Linked DNA regions of Homo sapiens: region 1 is linked to region 2. The links are contacts of gene promoters, found by promoter capture Hi-C in blood cells and fetal thymus (Javierre and others, 2016). All regions are on one chromosome and are shown on one strand. The core of a region is centred on a gene start or on the middle of the fragment in contact, and the rest is flanking DNA. Distances in the headings are between cores, read along the strand shown. Region 1 overlaps ABLIM1 (actin binding LIM protein 1). Region 2 holds the start of MXI1 (MAX interactor 1, dimerization protein).

Region 1 (7,679 bases), core at 2,356-4,855, 4.3 Mb after region 2:
AGACAGCATAGTCCACAAGGCTGAAAATATGTACTATCTGGCCCATTACATGTGATTCAGAGAAGTACAAACAAGTGTACTTACTCAGTTATTCATTTATTTATTTACGATGAGCTCACACTACTTAAAAAAAAAAACTTTTAGAAGTTGTCTGCTCAGACAGTGGCAGGGGATGCCTGGACAATCATCAACAATCTTCCTAGAAGCAGGTGGGAACTTGGGAGTTTTTAGGATGAGACAAGAAAAGCTCCATAGGCATGGGAAAGGGAAGTTGTTTAAAAACAAAGTGAAATAAAGGTTTGAGCAAAAATCTTTTGAATATCTACTCAATCCCCACACACCCTGCCTCCCTGTAATGGCTTTAATATTCCAAAAGACTTTGAAAGATAGCTTTGGTTTGTACAGCAAGCAGAGAAGTAGTTCAAGAGGCAGCCTGGGGGAGGTGCAGAGGGGATAGAGAAGCACTGAGCTGCTCTGAGGTCTACTTTTGCCTTACTAACCAATGGGCTGTGTGTTCCTAGGAAAATCACTCAGGTTTTCTGGGTCTCAGTGTCCTCAACTCTCAGAGGTTTAGACTAGATTAAATCTGTGGAACTTTCCTGCTAATGATATTTCTGGGAGTCCTAAGCAGGTATCACCTTGAACACAGAAAAGGAGGTAGAGAAGAGATCTTCCTGGTTGGTGCAAGGCCAGGTCCGGGAACCAGCCGGCCAGGTTGCAGCCTTTTTTCCCCGCCCAGCACATGTTGGGTGTGAGCGAGTGCAGATTAGGCAAGGCCCCAATTATCCCTCGGCTGGGAGAGGCAAGTGTGAACAATGAATCAGTCAGAAACTCCTTTCCAATATCCTCATCACACAGACAGTTAAATTGCAAACCACAAGACATATTTATTAATGAGTACATCCAAGGCCATCAGGCCATTTAAGAAGTTGTATTAAAAGGGCAAAAATCCCTCCAATCTTGCTCAGGGATGGTTAAAGGGTTCAGGGGTCCCTGCTCTTTGTGATGGATAGAGGAGCCAAATGACACATCAGGGTTCGCCCACAGATCCCTCATACATGCCATGGTTGAGCACTTCTCACTGGTCCTACCCCCAGTGCTGAGGGCCTTTTGAGTTTTTGACATCCATAAATAACCTGTGGGTACTACCTCCCTGCTTAGCTCACCACCAACCCAGGAAAAAAGGAACCAGCTGGGTTACCCCCAAACCTGGGTGAAACTGGATTATGTGCCAAGGAAAGCTTTGACGGACCAGTCTGGCAAGGCTGCAGCCTCTGCCCTGTTGGAGCTGTCATCTGGAGTTGTCCTGTGCTGGAAAATTCAAGCTGTAAGACAACAAGGGACTCCATCCCTAGAGGCCAGCACAGGCTTCAGGCTCATGCCTGAAGACTCCCACTGCAGAGGGTACACCCTCAGCTGCTGAAGCCTCTGGGCAGGGCCATAGTAAACAGTCTCCACCTCAACTCTCTATAGACAGAAGTCTTAATCATTTTAGAATTGGCTCCATGGAGTCACAGCTCCAAGCCAGCTTACAGCATTACATTTATATGTCGACAAGGGCTTCTGATCTTGGCCTTCTGTTCTGCAGTGGAACATCCTGGGGCCAATCAACCTCACAAACACCGGTGTCAAGGCAGGTGATGAACAGCACTTGGTTATATTAAAAATGTAGAAGAACTCTGTCAGGTTTAAAATTCTTAGGCATTTTCCTAGTCTTTTCTGCTTGAAATTGCTACCTACAGTTGTCATGGTGGTTTCCTTGGTGTAAGTTTCATATTCTAGGGGAAATCAGTGCCATCGTGGGAGCTAAAAAAAGGAGAACTCATTCCCAGGGCTGCCAATTGTAACCCTGGATTAAAGTGCCATGTGACTCAGCAGCTGCTTAACTTTTGACTAATAGATTTGTTTACATAAGAAGAATGAGAGGGTTTAAGCAATCAATGACGTCCTATCGGTTAAAAAAAGAAAAAAAAGAAAGAAAGAAAAATGACGTAGGCTGGGTGTGGTGCTTCATGCCTGTAATCCCAGCACTTCAGGAGGCCAAGGCAGGAGGACCACTTGAGGCCAGGAGTTAAGAGAGCAGCCTGGGCAACATAGTGAGACCCTGTCTCTAAAAAATAATAATAAAAAAAAATTAGCTGGGCATGATGGCATGCACCTGTAGTCCCGGGACTCAGGAGACTGAGGCAGGGAATCTCTGGAGCCCAGGAGTTTGAGGCTGCAGTAAGTTATGACTGTGCCACTGTGCTCCAGTCTGGACAACAGAGTGAGACCCTGTTTCTAAAAAAACAATAAAAATAAGTGACTTAAGATACAGCAGCTAGTTATCCTTAGAGATGTCACTGGATTATGAACTGATAGGCTCATGTTTATGTTTATAAATAGTATAAATAATATGTATAAGCTCAAATAATAGGGATGAGAAGGGAGGAGGTGAGGTCTTAGGTTTCATTCATTTGGCAAAAGCCTGTGATGAACCTGTGGGTCAGGCACTGGACACCTGATGAGGAGGAAAGAAAGGCTGTATAATCTGCGCTACCAAGAAGAAATCTGTATTCAATTCCTGGCCCTGCAGTAATCATCTGTACGCCTTTCGGCAACTGCTCTGGGCCTCAGTTTACTTACTTGCAAAACAAAGATGAGAGTCATACTCAAGCCATAGAGTTGATGAAAGGACTTTGATGAAGTATGCTTATAAAGTGCTAAGGCAATAAGAACAAACAATAATTACAACCATAACCACCTTTATTACACATTCCTGTCCTCAAGAGCTTAGTATGCAGAGCTTAGCAAACAGGTGACTGTAACTGGATAAGATGGTTAGTGTAATGTACAAAGTGAGGTGGGTGTGGGGAGAAAATTCTCCAAGGCTACTGTCTTGGGGAGTCAAAGAGGAATCACAGGAGAGAAGCTCTTAGACTTAAAAGAGAGTAGAAATTTACTCGGTAGTCAACCCCCCTCCTTTCCCCGCTCCTTCTTTCCTTCCTTCCCTCTCCTTTTCCCTCCCATTCATCCATCCTTCTATCCATCCACTCATCCTCTTATTGGGCACCAACCTTCTATCAGATGATGTTTTAGTTTCGGGGATATGATAGTACCTGTCATAAGCATACATTCTTGCAATGAGTGACAGATACTAGACATGGATACAAGCAGATAAGAATTCCAGATAGTCGGGGAACAGTGCCATGAAGAACCTAAAACAGAACCAGGGGAGAGAAGATGGCCTAGGGGTTGGGCAGGTGGAAGCAACTTTAGCTAGGTGATTAGAGGATACCTCTCCAAGTCAAAAGAGGCAGGTTGAATAATGAGAAGGAAGCCAAGATCTGGAGGAAGAATGTGCCAGGCTCAGGGAGCAGTGAAAGCCCAGAGATGGACAGTGTCTGTGCTTGAGGGGCAGAAAGAAGGCTAGCAGGGCTGGAATGAAAGAGGAGGGAAGATGTAGGTAATCAGAAACTTAATCTCAGAGGGCTGCATAAGCCAGGAGAAGATATTTCAACAGATTTTCAAAATTCCAAGGTTTAAAGGCAAAACAAAAACCCAGTCGAACACATGTTTTCCTCATGCTTTAGAACTCTTTTCAAACCACAAAGGAAACCTGGCAATCCACCCCACCCCCCACTTATTCCCTAAACTTCGTTATATAAGGGCCAACATCTTCTTTCATCTGTTGCCAGACCAGATACATTTGGCATCCTAAACAAGTTGCCAAAACAAAGCAGAAAGCTCAGCTTAAACTCTGTTAGAGGATGTTCTAAACTTCACAAAACACAATTCTCTATGTTTTCAAGTATGTTTATTTGGACAAGGTATACGGATATGAGCACAGACATAAGGAACCAGCTGCACAGAACCAAGACAATCTAGTAAAAAATTACTATTCAGCAGTAAGGAAAGATAAAAGCAGTCTTAAGTGTAAACAAGTATTTTTGCTTCATCTAGTGTTTATGAGCAACAAATGGCCTCAGTGTGAACCAGCAATGCTGAGAAGGACACAAACACGTATTTGCTAAAAACATTCCAGGCTTGGCGAATAATAAAGCAGCAGGGTTTGTTTCCTCTTTGATGAAGGTCCCCTCCCGTCAAAGGCTGCACCTTAAGCCTCTGCAGCTTAAGGTACAAGAAAGGCTCACGCTTGCTCATTCCCAGGGCTCTGCTTAGAAGCATGTAGCTAGGCCAGGTGCGGTGGCTCACGCCTGTAATCCCAGCACTTTGGGAGGCTGAAGCGGGTGGATCACTTGAGGTCAGGAGTTGAAGACCAGCCTAGCCAACATGGTGAAACCCCATCTCTACTAAAAACACAAAAAATTAGCCGGGCATGGTGGCACACACCTGTAATCCCAGTTACTCGGAGGGTGAGGCAGGAGAATCGCTTGAACCCAGGAGGTGGAGGTTGCAGTGAGCCAAGATTGCACCACTGCACTCCAGCCTGGGTGACAGAGCAAGACTCCATCTCAAAAAACAAAACAAAACAAAAAAATCCATGGAGCTGGGGTTGGTTTGTGAACCAAAGCAAGAGATTGAGAGGATCTTTGGCTTCTCTGTCTCTCACTACGGCATCTTTACATTCTGCACAGTCTGGAAACTTCCAATTTCAAGACATCTGCCCCATCTGCACCCCCCTTGCCCTGATAACCTGGTTCAGAGAACCAGGTAGGTTCTCTGGGCAGCACCACCTGACTCCCCACAGGACACATAGATCAACAAGGGCCGTTTTTTCACCTCTGATCATAAGCTCTTTCAACTGGCGAGTTTTCTTAAAGAGGTGGTAAATACCTTGCCTTTGGGTCAGACCCTATGGTTAGTGTGCTCTTTATCTTATTGAAACCATGAAGAAGCATTAACCTGTGGGGTTTATAATAAGAGCAGAAATTTAATTTCTGGGCCTTATGAAGGCCCAAATTCTACAACCCACAGACCCACTCTTCCTGCATCCTTCAAAGAGTTTTCTGGTAGCCCCTCAGACATTAAAACCTGCTTAGATGGTGACTGGATTTGTCCTCTTTAAAAAATTACAGAAATATGGACACAGGCTGCAGACATGTGGCTTGCTGACCAAGCTCCTGGGTGGTCTTTCCATAGAAATCATTGACATTCATTTGTCTGTTCATCAATGACTGAGCAAATAGTATGAGCAGGCACTGTGCTATATCCTGGGGGCAAATAGACCTAAAATGCTCACATTTGCTGCACTCAGGGATCTTTGGTCTACTGAATGGGGGGAGAGGGTGAATTTTAATTACGAAGAACTGTTACTTAGAGAGCACATGGTGTGTGTCACATTGGTACCTCCAGGTGGAGAGAAATGCAAGATTTGCTTTGCAATCAAAAGCAGAAACCACAGCTCTCTGATAACATTATGGGCCAGTCCAGGTCTGTCACCAAGAATAGACTTCAATAAGTCAAGGTGTTTCCCTATCTGTTCAGCCAATGCTAAGCACCACTAAGCACTATGCAGTGGTACATCTCATCTGGTTTGGGTGGTGGTGGTAGCTCCTGGAAGTCACGGTGCTCAGTGCAATGTACTATATTCTTGGAGAAACACCAAGAAAAAGCAGCACTCGCAGCTTCATGCATTTTGTAATCTGTAAACCTTTGAGAGCAAACAAGCAGTAGCATTAATGCTAAAGGTGTAAGAAAAATTTTAAACGGAAAAAATCCCAGCCATTGACTTCATCGTTATCTGTAAATTGGAAAAAAGCTGTGATTCTTCAATTGCACTCACAAAACAAGGCCCAATTCCTAAAAAAATCAAAACAGTTTGAGACCCACTGGTACAGATGGCGAAAAGAAAAAAGAAATGAAAGCATTCACTTGCAGATTCTAGAAGAAAAAAAAACTAACAGGCATGGCCAGATTTACTAAAAACCCACATTACAAACAAACAAACAACAACAACAACAAAAAACTCTATATTTACAGAAGGGAAAAGTATGGGTAACTATTTGCTTTATAAAATGGATCACTGTATAAGCTTCTTTTTAAAAAAAGACAAAATAGTATATCCCCAGAATGCACTTTAGAATTCAATTGAAAGAAGTTTGACTACTATACCAATCATAGCACTGTATAAAATAAGTCCCACAAGGGCACAGAAGGAAAAGGGGGCAGAAGAATGTATATCCGCAGCAAGTCCTTGAATCTGATACCCCATTCCCAAGATGTGATTTCAGACAAAACCCAAACAAAATAAAAACCAAATGGTCAGGCAAAAACACCTGTCCTGCCACTGTTCCTTGGACCCCGCCAGGCCTCCCTGGGACTCCAGCCTCCTCTCATAGACCCTTCCCCCTCGTTGGCAGCAGTAGGCCCCAAGACAGGTTTCCCTCTAGCAGTGATTCCCAACCAGGGGCATTTTGCCCACAGGGAATATTTAACAGTGTCTGAAGATATCTCTGGTTCTCACAGCTGGGGAGGGAGTGCTACTGTCGCCTGGTGTGTAGAGATCAAGGATGCTACTAGACATCCCATAGACAGTCCCCTGCAACAAACTATAATCCCATCCAAAATGTCAATAATGCTGAGGTTGAGAAACCCTGTTCTACAGGAGCCAAAATCATGACCATCCCTCCAGAAAGTCAGGTTACAAGAACTGAGTAGTTCACTTTCTGTCCTTTTAGGTGAGCTATTGTTTAGTTGAAGAGAAAAATCTGCAGGCTTCTGTTGTCAGGATATAATATTCCCTGAGCTTACTGGATAAGCCACTGATGCGAGGATTAGACTCACTGACACATGAAAATGCTTAGGCAACCGCCTCGAAAACATTGGTCAAAACATTCTAAGTGTTATAAGGGATGCTTGGCAAGGCCTCACGCTTAGTCTTAAAAAGCCTTCTCAAAAGTAATTTATACCAATGAGCCGTGGCAAATTCACCTATTCTATAAGTACGCAGTGACTCAACAAGCCTTTTGATCCATTTATAGAATGGCAACAATTATATTTTAATGAGTTATTTTCACTTACTTGTCAGAACCTGTTTTGGTAATCTAAATAACTTCACATCCTCTTAACATTCCTTATGAGGCTGTCTGAGAGAAAAACAGGCTCAGTTTTCTTTTAAGTCTCCAATCTCAGCTAAGTGACAAATGAAGCTGCTATAGCGACCACACTCCTGCTGGCTTATGGCCAAACTCACGTTTTCTTTTTTTCTTTTCCAACATCATAAATCTATTTTTTTCACAGATGAAATAACTTTCTGGTCCCATTTCTTCTTTCATGCTAGTATAGCACATTTTAAAACACTTTCCCCCCAAAAAAAGTCTTTACAGTATGATTCGATTAATAACTGGGTTTTTAGGAAAACTATTTTCAATATAAAGGCCAGAATCTCTAGATTTCTTTTACTGCATATCAAAGGTGGAAAGAGAGGCAATTGTCAAGCTCTTTCAACCTAGAGCCGCAATAAAACATGAATAACATCTAAACATTTTGTTTCCTTATTTTCATTTATTGGGTATTTCTTAAAGAAAAAAAAATCTCATAATTTACAGTAATAGCTAAATCTACTCATTCCCACGTGCCACTTCCACCACCAAATCCCCCAAACAGGACTCAAATGTAAATTTCACAGAGCTCTACAAACCACAGACAAAACAAAACAACCCCAAAGTCTGAAAACCACAGTCTCCTTTCAATCTTGCGGGTAGCAGCCTAAAAAAACATAAGCCTTGTTTAAAAGG
Region 2 (7,717 bases), core at 4,687-7,186:
CGTGTATGTAGAGTATGTGCTCCTGGATCTGTTATCCCAGATAAACATACTCACTTCAGTGCTCATCAACTTTTTCACCCATGAGAACTGTGCTTTGGATAAGGAAAGGGAGAAGGACAACTTATAGGCTACAGGTAGGAGAGACAGAAAAAAGAGAAAGAGAAAATAGACTCCAGAGGTGAGGACAGGGTGGGTGGTAGGCAGGTGTCCAGGCAGAAGGTCAGGAACTAGAAGCAGCAGATTTTGTATATCCCCCAATGTTGGGTGGGAGGCTGTCTTCCAGATTATTCAGTCCAGGAGTCCTAGGCCCCTAGACTAGGAATGAGGCTTCTTCAACTTTTCTTTCTTTCTTTTTTTTTTTTCTTTCCAAAAAAGAACCAATGGGAAGCAGTCTTTTCCAGAGATGAGGCTGATTGGGTGACCTAAAATGCCAATCTTTTTGCCTTGGGCTAGAATTTTACCAGCTCGATGTGGTCACAATAGTTCTCCCATGCTGTTCCAAATACTTCTGGGCAGTGACATCCCAGTCTGCCATTCATGAACATAAGAGAGATGAATTAATGAAGCTTTCTGGAATGGTGGAGAGAGGTAGACTCTGTGGCAATGGAATACTCCCTTCATCAGCGAGGACACCGAGGCACCAGATGACTAGATTGTTTATTCAAAATTACACAGTGGTTCAGTAGAAGAGTTGGCCCAAAGCCCTGGTCTTCTAATTTCTTCTCCCATTTTCTTGTCATTTTTGTTTTTGTTTTCCCTAAAAATCTTCCAGGACTTTTGTAGCCTGATTCTATCCTGACATGCACACCATTGTTTTTTGTTTTTTGAGATGGGGTCTCACTCTGTCACCCAGGCTGGAGTGCAGTGACGTGATCTCGGCTCACTGCAAGCTCTGCCTCCCGGGTTCAAGCAATTCTCCTGCCTCAGCCTCCAGAGTAGCTGGGATTATAGGCGTGCGCTACTATGCCTGGCTAATTTTTTTGTATTTTTAGTAGAGATGGGGTTTCACCATCTTGGCCAGGCTGGTCTCAAACCCCTGACCTTGTGATCTGCCCGCCTCAACCTCCCAAAGTGCTGGGATTACAGGCATGAGCCATCGCGCCCAGCCACGCACACTACTCTTCACGGTTTCAAAAGTTTCTTCATATATACCCCTTCAGCAAGGCAAGCATTGTTCTTCCCACTTCGTCGATGATAACACGGATTATCTGAGAGGTTAAGTGACTTATACAAGTTCAGCTAGCTGATAATCAGGAGGAAAACCCTTTGCCACTTGCAAACTACCTTGCCCCTTCATCTCTTGATGCCTAATATTTTACCATTAGAATTTTATTCCTTAAAGCTTAAGGCACTGGTCATCTTTAATTCCAAACGCCTCCAGGGAAAGTCATATTTAAGCTAGTCAGTCACTGATACCTGCCACTTTAATGTACATAAATTTAGAGACTTTTGCTGAATTAATTAAAAAATATGGAGATGTTAAAGAACTGGGGCCTGAAAGACTGAGAAGACACTCTAGAATGGGGGAGATGTGAGAAAAGCTCCATCTGACTTCTAATTTAGTCTCAGGCCACTGCCTTCACCGCCTGGTGATTTCTGAAAATTCTTCATTAGAGGCATCTTATAACACAGGAGACCCATCTTGTCACCAGATCTGTCACCAGCAGTAAGGACAGGGGACAGGGCAGCTGAGTCTCTGCACTTTTTTGTAATGGAACCTCAACCATCTGGCTCAATGGGTTTCTGGCTTCTCCATGGAGACAGCATTTAGATATTTAAACTTTAATGTGAGTGACTCAGGAATAGTTTTGCAGACAGCATCAAATGCCTCTTCTCACCACTGGAACGAGAAGCCATGAACGGCCGGCACCGAGGCTCTGACCAGGCAGGGAAGGGCATTCATGCCTTTGACTCGTGACCTAAGCCCCAGTATTATGCCATGCATGTGCTAGGTGCCAGGGCCTGGGGATGCTAGGAGGAGCAAGGTGTGCTTCCTGCCCTTGATGAGCTCATAGTCTAATAAGCCCTCTAAGTACTGGGTGTTGGACAGGAGAAGCCCAGGAGTCTGCTGAACCAGGAAGAGGCTGCCAGACTCACAGTTCTGGGAGAAAGGAGGGCAGAGTCCAGGAGAGCTGAGATAATGCCTCCAGGAGCAGGTGACACCCAGTGAACTCCACTGTAGGGCGGAGGCTACTTATCCCCTGCCCATGTCTATACCCACTGGTGAGTGTGTGGGTGGTGGTGGGTGGTATGGGCAGTGGTTAGAGGAGGCCTGGTCAGCACTTTTAGGCCATGGGAGAGGCAGAGTCTCACAGTTCTCCTTGTTCCTACCATTCTGCTTGTGTCTTACAGTTCCTAACCCTCTATTCTTGGGCCTTCTACAGGGCCACTCCTTTCTAACAAATGAAAGCAAGAGTCAGGCCCCCAAGGAGAAGGAGCTGTGAGCCAGTTCCTCATCTCACTGCCAGATGATTCCTTTCCAAAAGGGAAAGGTACCCAGGAAAACTGTGGCTGGGAAAGCTCTGAGAATTAGGACTCAAGTGACAAGGGAGGGGACAGAAGAGCTCTTCATGGTGTTTGCCAAGTCTGAGTACAAAGATCACAGGGCAAAGAGTAAGAAAGAATCTGACTAGGACATTTTGGCAAGGTCCAAGGAGAAACTAGAGGGTGGACGAGTGACGGATTTAGGCAGAAAAGGCTGGTGAGTGGGGAATAGATGAGGCAGGAAGAGCAAGGCTAAGGAACCCAAGAGAGCCAAAATGGTCCATGACAGAGGGAAGAGCATCCCATCCCAATGCAAGGTGGGTAGGTTTCGATGGCAACGCATCCATCGCCTTCTCAGTAATTAACCAGCCTCTGTGTACATAAAGACATAATTATAGGCCAAACAACTCCTTTGATGTAAGAGTATAGAACGTCTGGGGGGAAAGGGGCAAATAAAAGAAAGAACAATCTTGCTTTAATATACAAACAAGGTCCATGGAAAGGTATTGCCAAACAAGCAAATAAGCCAAACAAACAAATGAACAGAGTGTTGGGAAAGCAGGACCCAGGCCGACTGGGCACCCAAGATATCCCGGGCCCTCTGAGAGCATTCTAGCTGACTTCATTGGGCATTTCTGCTTTTCTTTCAAAGAGTTCACATGTGTTCTCATCAGAATGGCTGTATTCACATCCCCTACCTGTTCTATGCAGAAATTCTCAGCATTTCCAAAGGGGCCTGTTTACTTCTGGAATCAAAACCCCAAAGAAAGGGGGGGTTGCAAAGGGTTTGAATGGCTCCTCCTGGGAAGCAAATCTAATCGGGAATGGAGCTGAGCTTGTAACCCAGCATCCTGGATGCCTGTCCTGTGATATAACCCCTGAAACACCACTCTTTCTGTTGGGGCCAACTTTATTAGAGAAATCTGTTAATTGGGGAACGGAGCGGGAGAAGGGAGAGAGCAATGGGATGTTAATATGATTTAACACTTGATGGGCTCTGAAAACAAATAAGGAGGGGGCTTCGGGCTTTAGCTTGGCACATTCGTCGTTCCACATACGTGTTACCAAAATGAATATATGCAACTAAACTATATGCGAGACTCTGGGGGCACAGTAACACAGACTTTGTGAAACAAAAAGGCATTTCTCCTGCTTCCACTGTGTCTCTTGTGGTGCCATTGTCTGATGCTAAGAACTCACATAATAACAAAAAACAATGCCCCTATGATGGGGGGAAAACTTGATTTGGCACCAGCCGTGGTGTTTTCCATGGGAATGATGGTGGGGGCTGTGGCCGACTGTGGGAATAGTGCAAATCAGCACTTTTTTGTAGATTTTCTTCAAGCCATTGTTTATTTTGGCTTTGGTCAGATCCGTGGCCCAGCTTGAAGATTCCCACTGGGCTTTCTGAAACTCGCAGACCTATGAGAGATGGAACAGGGATAAATAAATAATTACAAAACACCCTTCCCCCACCATGGCACTCATGCATGCGTGTGCCTGTCTTGGTGGTGCATGTATGTTGCAGTACTATACATCTGACCCATGCCACCAATGGGCAATTAAAGAGAAAGCAAGGTTTTCTCTGGGCTTAGCTGGTTCATTGTCTCAGTACCATCTTTCATTTGGGGCAAGAGAGATCAGAGCTGTTTCACACAAGGGCCAGTTTTTGCAAAATGGCATTGGAGAAAGCTTGTTTGAAACTGTGCATACATGAGGTCTTCCTAACATTTTTAGATGTTTACAGGCATTTCAACACGAATAACTCAGGTTGTGGTTCTCACAGAAGCAAAAAATCAGTAATTGTTCTAATAATGGAAGATAAACTTTTTTTTTTTTTTTTTTTGAGACGGAGTCTGGCTCTGTCGCCCAGGCTGGAGTGCAGTGGCGCTATCTCGGCTCACTACAAGCTCCGCCTCCCGGGTTCACGCCATTCTCCTGCCTCAGCCTCCGGAGTAGCTGGGATTACAGGCATGCGCCACCACGCCCGGCTAATTTTGTATTTTTGGTAGAGACAGCGTTTCTCTATGTTGGTCAGGCTGGTCGCGAACTCCCAACCTCAGGTGATCTGCCCGCTTTGGCCTCCCAAAGTGCTGGGATTACAGGCGTGAGCCACTGCGTCCGGCCATCAAGAGTTTTTATGACAATGTGTATGAAGCTGCCTTTGAGTAGGGTGGCTGCATCGCACACCTCCAGGGGGCAGCATTGTCTTTGTCCTCTATATAAATGGTTCCCCTGGAGGAAAACTCCAGGTGACCTTGCAAAGTAACCATATTTAGATGGGCTTGTCATAGAGATATTTTCCAAGGAAGTGCAGAAGAGTCTTGTTCACTACATCTTGTTCCTTTCTTAGATACAAGTTACATCAGAATAGGGGACTCAGGCTCTTGCCTGGGTCTGGATTGGAAGAAAAAGAGCTTACCATGGGCCAGAGTGTGCTAAGTCAGATACAATACACAAGCATCTTATCACACATTTCAATGATGTGGAAACTTAGGCCAAGAGAGGTTAAGGGACTTGTCCAAGCTCACACAGTCTGTATGCAGCAGAGCTGGGATTTGAACCCTTTCCTATGGCACCCTAGAGCAGCCTTCAATCATCCCCTGACACCTCCAGTACTTCCCAGGGCTGGAAAGCATCCATGATTGCGGACAGCAGTGGCAGTGAAACAATGTCAGCTGGGGTAGGGGTTTTCAGAGGCAAAAGGTGGAATTCAGCTGGGGAGGGGGGTGGTTCCTGAGCTGCCACTTCTGCCTCTCAAATTAAAGGGAGCCAGGTGTGGAGGCATCCTGGTGTGAGCTTTGCACAGCTGAACCAAGGCTGGGCAGAGGAGTGTGGAGAGGGATGCTGACATCTCCTCCCACTTCTGGAAAATAACTTTGCATTTGAAGGGAGAAAGGCATGAGTAAATCTGTAACTCGGATTTGGACGGCCTGGGATTTCATTTGACTGTGTGAAGGCACACACAGGTGCCTCGCAAGTGTGTGCGTGATTACGTATGTATGTGTGTCTGTGAGTAGGAGTGTTTGTGTTGGGGGTGGGGGGATCTTCTGGTTACACACTGGTTCCCTTCTTCCCATTTGGATTGGGGAGCTTTTATTTATTTATTTTTAAGTCATAGCAGCCACCATGTATGGGGACCTAACTATGTGCCAGGCATTGTGCTGGACACTTTCTGAGGCATTATTTTTCTGTGAAAAAAGTAGTTTGTTTTTATGCAGGTGCACCCAGAGACATCAGGTATTTTTTTCCATTCCGGTTAAAAGACAGTGTTCTACTCTGTGGTAAGCCTTGGGGAGAGGCAGGGAAGCCTGCGGGGACGGGCAGGGGCGGTCCCTGCCTCGCTCGCTAGTCTCCACCTTTTATTTTGACCGGTCCGATGGCGACAGGCTCGCACTAGGACCCAGGCGCCAGAGTGCCTCCGTCTGTCCTGTAGGTTCATTCAATCTCCCATACACACAGACTCACAGCGAGACCGACACACACTCCCATACACTCACACACACAACTGCAGGCAGCGAGGCTCGGGAAGTCAGGCCGGCTTTTCGCCCCGGCGCCTTCTCTGCTCCAGCCGGCCGGGTCTCCCTGGGGGCCCGGAGCTCGGCCGGGCCGCGCAGCCCCGTTAGAGGACGAGCTCGGCGGACCCCCGCTCCTCCATGGGCAAACGCGGGCGGCCGCGCAAGGAGGCGCGCTGCGAGGGCGCGGGGCTGGCCCCCGCCGCGCCCCCGGCTGTGCCCCCCGCCGTGGCCGCGCCCCAGCCCCCGGCCCTGCCCGAGGACCCCGCTGGGGCCAAGCCCAGGTGCCCCTTCTCAGACATTTTCAACACCAGCGAGAACTCGATGGAGAAGCACATCAACACTTTTCTGCAGAACGTGCAGATTCTGCTCGAGGCCGCCAGCTACCTGGAGCAGATCGAGAAAGAAAACAAAAGTAAGTTTGGGGGCCCCTGCTCTTCCTCGGCGCCCGGTTCTTTCTTTCTCGCCCACTTGGGCGACCCCTGTTGCGAGCTCGGCCCGTCCCCCCCCCGCCCAACATACACATCCAGCCCTTGGCAGTAAAGCCGATGACACCGGAGAAAGGACACGCACGCACAAAGCTGCTAAAGATGTAACAAAGACGGGCGAGGGGGAGAGGGGCCTGTCGGTGCGTCGGTCTGTCCTCTCCGGCGGGCTGGGGCTGGGAGGATGGCCCAGCGGAGGAGCGGGGGAGTGTTGTTGTTTGCTGACAACTGAGCCGAGAGCTCATCTCTTTGAGGTCGCTTTTCTTCCTTTTTTTTTTTTTTTTTTCCGGAGCCTTCTCAGGCAGACAAGTGTTGTTTTTCTGTTGCTCGTTCCTGGGTGGGGTGGGGATTAGAAGCCGAAAGTTGGAAACCATAGGCAGAGCTCAGAGGTTCCAGAAAGAAAACACACAGACACACACTACAACAATAACAACCAAACAGCTCTCCACGGCGTGGGCTCGGCTCTGTCTCTCTCTCTCCCTCCTACTTCGCCTTTTTCCTTCCCTCTAGCAGCAGGACTGGGCTCAGGCCATCACGTCTACGGACACAGTCCCCCTGCACGTCCGTTGCCGTGGGGTGCCACCGCCGCCCCCCCCCCCCCAAAGAAGGAGGCCGGCGGGGCCAAGCAACGCCAGCAGCTCGCCCCGGACACGCCGTCCTGAGCCCGGGAAACTTGGCCGTGGGGACGCGGCTAGAAGGAAACTTTGGGATCTTTGAGAAACAATAGTTGGGGAAGAAGGTGTGGGCTGTTCTGTGCTTTTTCTTTATTTTCCGGGAGACGGCTCTTGAGTGAGCGCACAGGGCAAGCAAGGCAAACGCCTTCCTGGTCGATTTCTACTCCCCCCACCCGCCCACCCCCAGATTCACGTGGATAGTAGTGCGTGGGTGGGGGTGTGCTGGGAACCCCACCCTGGCCTGGCTTCTTTTTTGTATTTATTTGTTTCATTTTTGCCCCTACCAGCCAGGTCACCCAGCTTTCCCCAGGCAGTCGACTCAGCGCCCTAACGGGGGCACGCGTGTGCAGCGTATCCAGCACCGTCCTCAGAATAATAGCTGTGAAAAGGAGGAAGGGAACTAGGCAGACAGACCGACAGATAGGGGGAAACCGGGATGTTTAATGTGTCCGAACAAGTAGGAAGATCAATGAGGCGCGAGTGTGTGTGTGTACGTGTGCGCGTGTGTGTGTGAGAGAGAGAGAAAGAAAGAAGAAAGGTCCCGATTGCAACGTGTCAG

The links. Contacts are between HindIII fragments. The CHiCAGO score rates a contact against its expected background, and 5 or more counts as called.
Region 1: a contact is called between a fragment that was not itself captured here and the fragment with the promoter of MXI1 in region 2, in 1 of 17 cell types (naive CD8 T cells). The highest score is 5.6, in naive CD8 T cells.

Annotation. Positions count from the first base shown.
Region 1 is chr10:114,518,695-114,526,373 of GRCh38, forward strand. All of the region lies in intron 6 of ABLIM1 (actin binding LIM protein 1), which reads right to left. Among named protein-coding and RNA genes, the nearest start is that of AFAP1L2, 120 kb to the left of the region's middle. RefSeq lists an enhancer at 214-733. The HindIII fragment of the contact is 4,733 bases long and covers 1,240-5,972 here.
Region 2 is chr10:110,201,669-110,209,385 of GRCh38, forward strand. MXI1 (MAX interactor 1, dimerization protein) reads left to right here and starts at 5,937. Exons shown (of 6, transcript NM_130439.3): 1 at 5,937-6,414. The coding sequence starts at 6,141. RefSeq lists an enhancer at 4,018-4,518 and a silencer at 6,108-6,187. The HindIII fragment of the contact is 6,685 bases long and covers 4,175-7,717 here.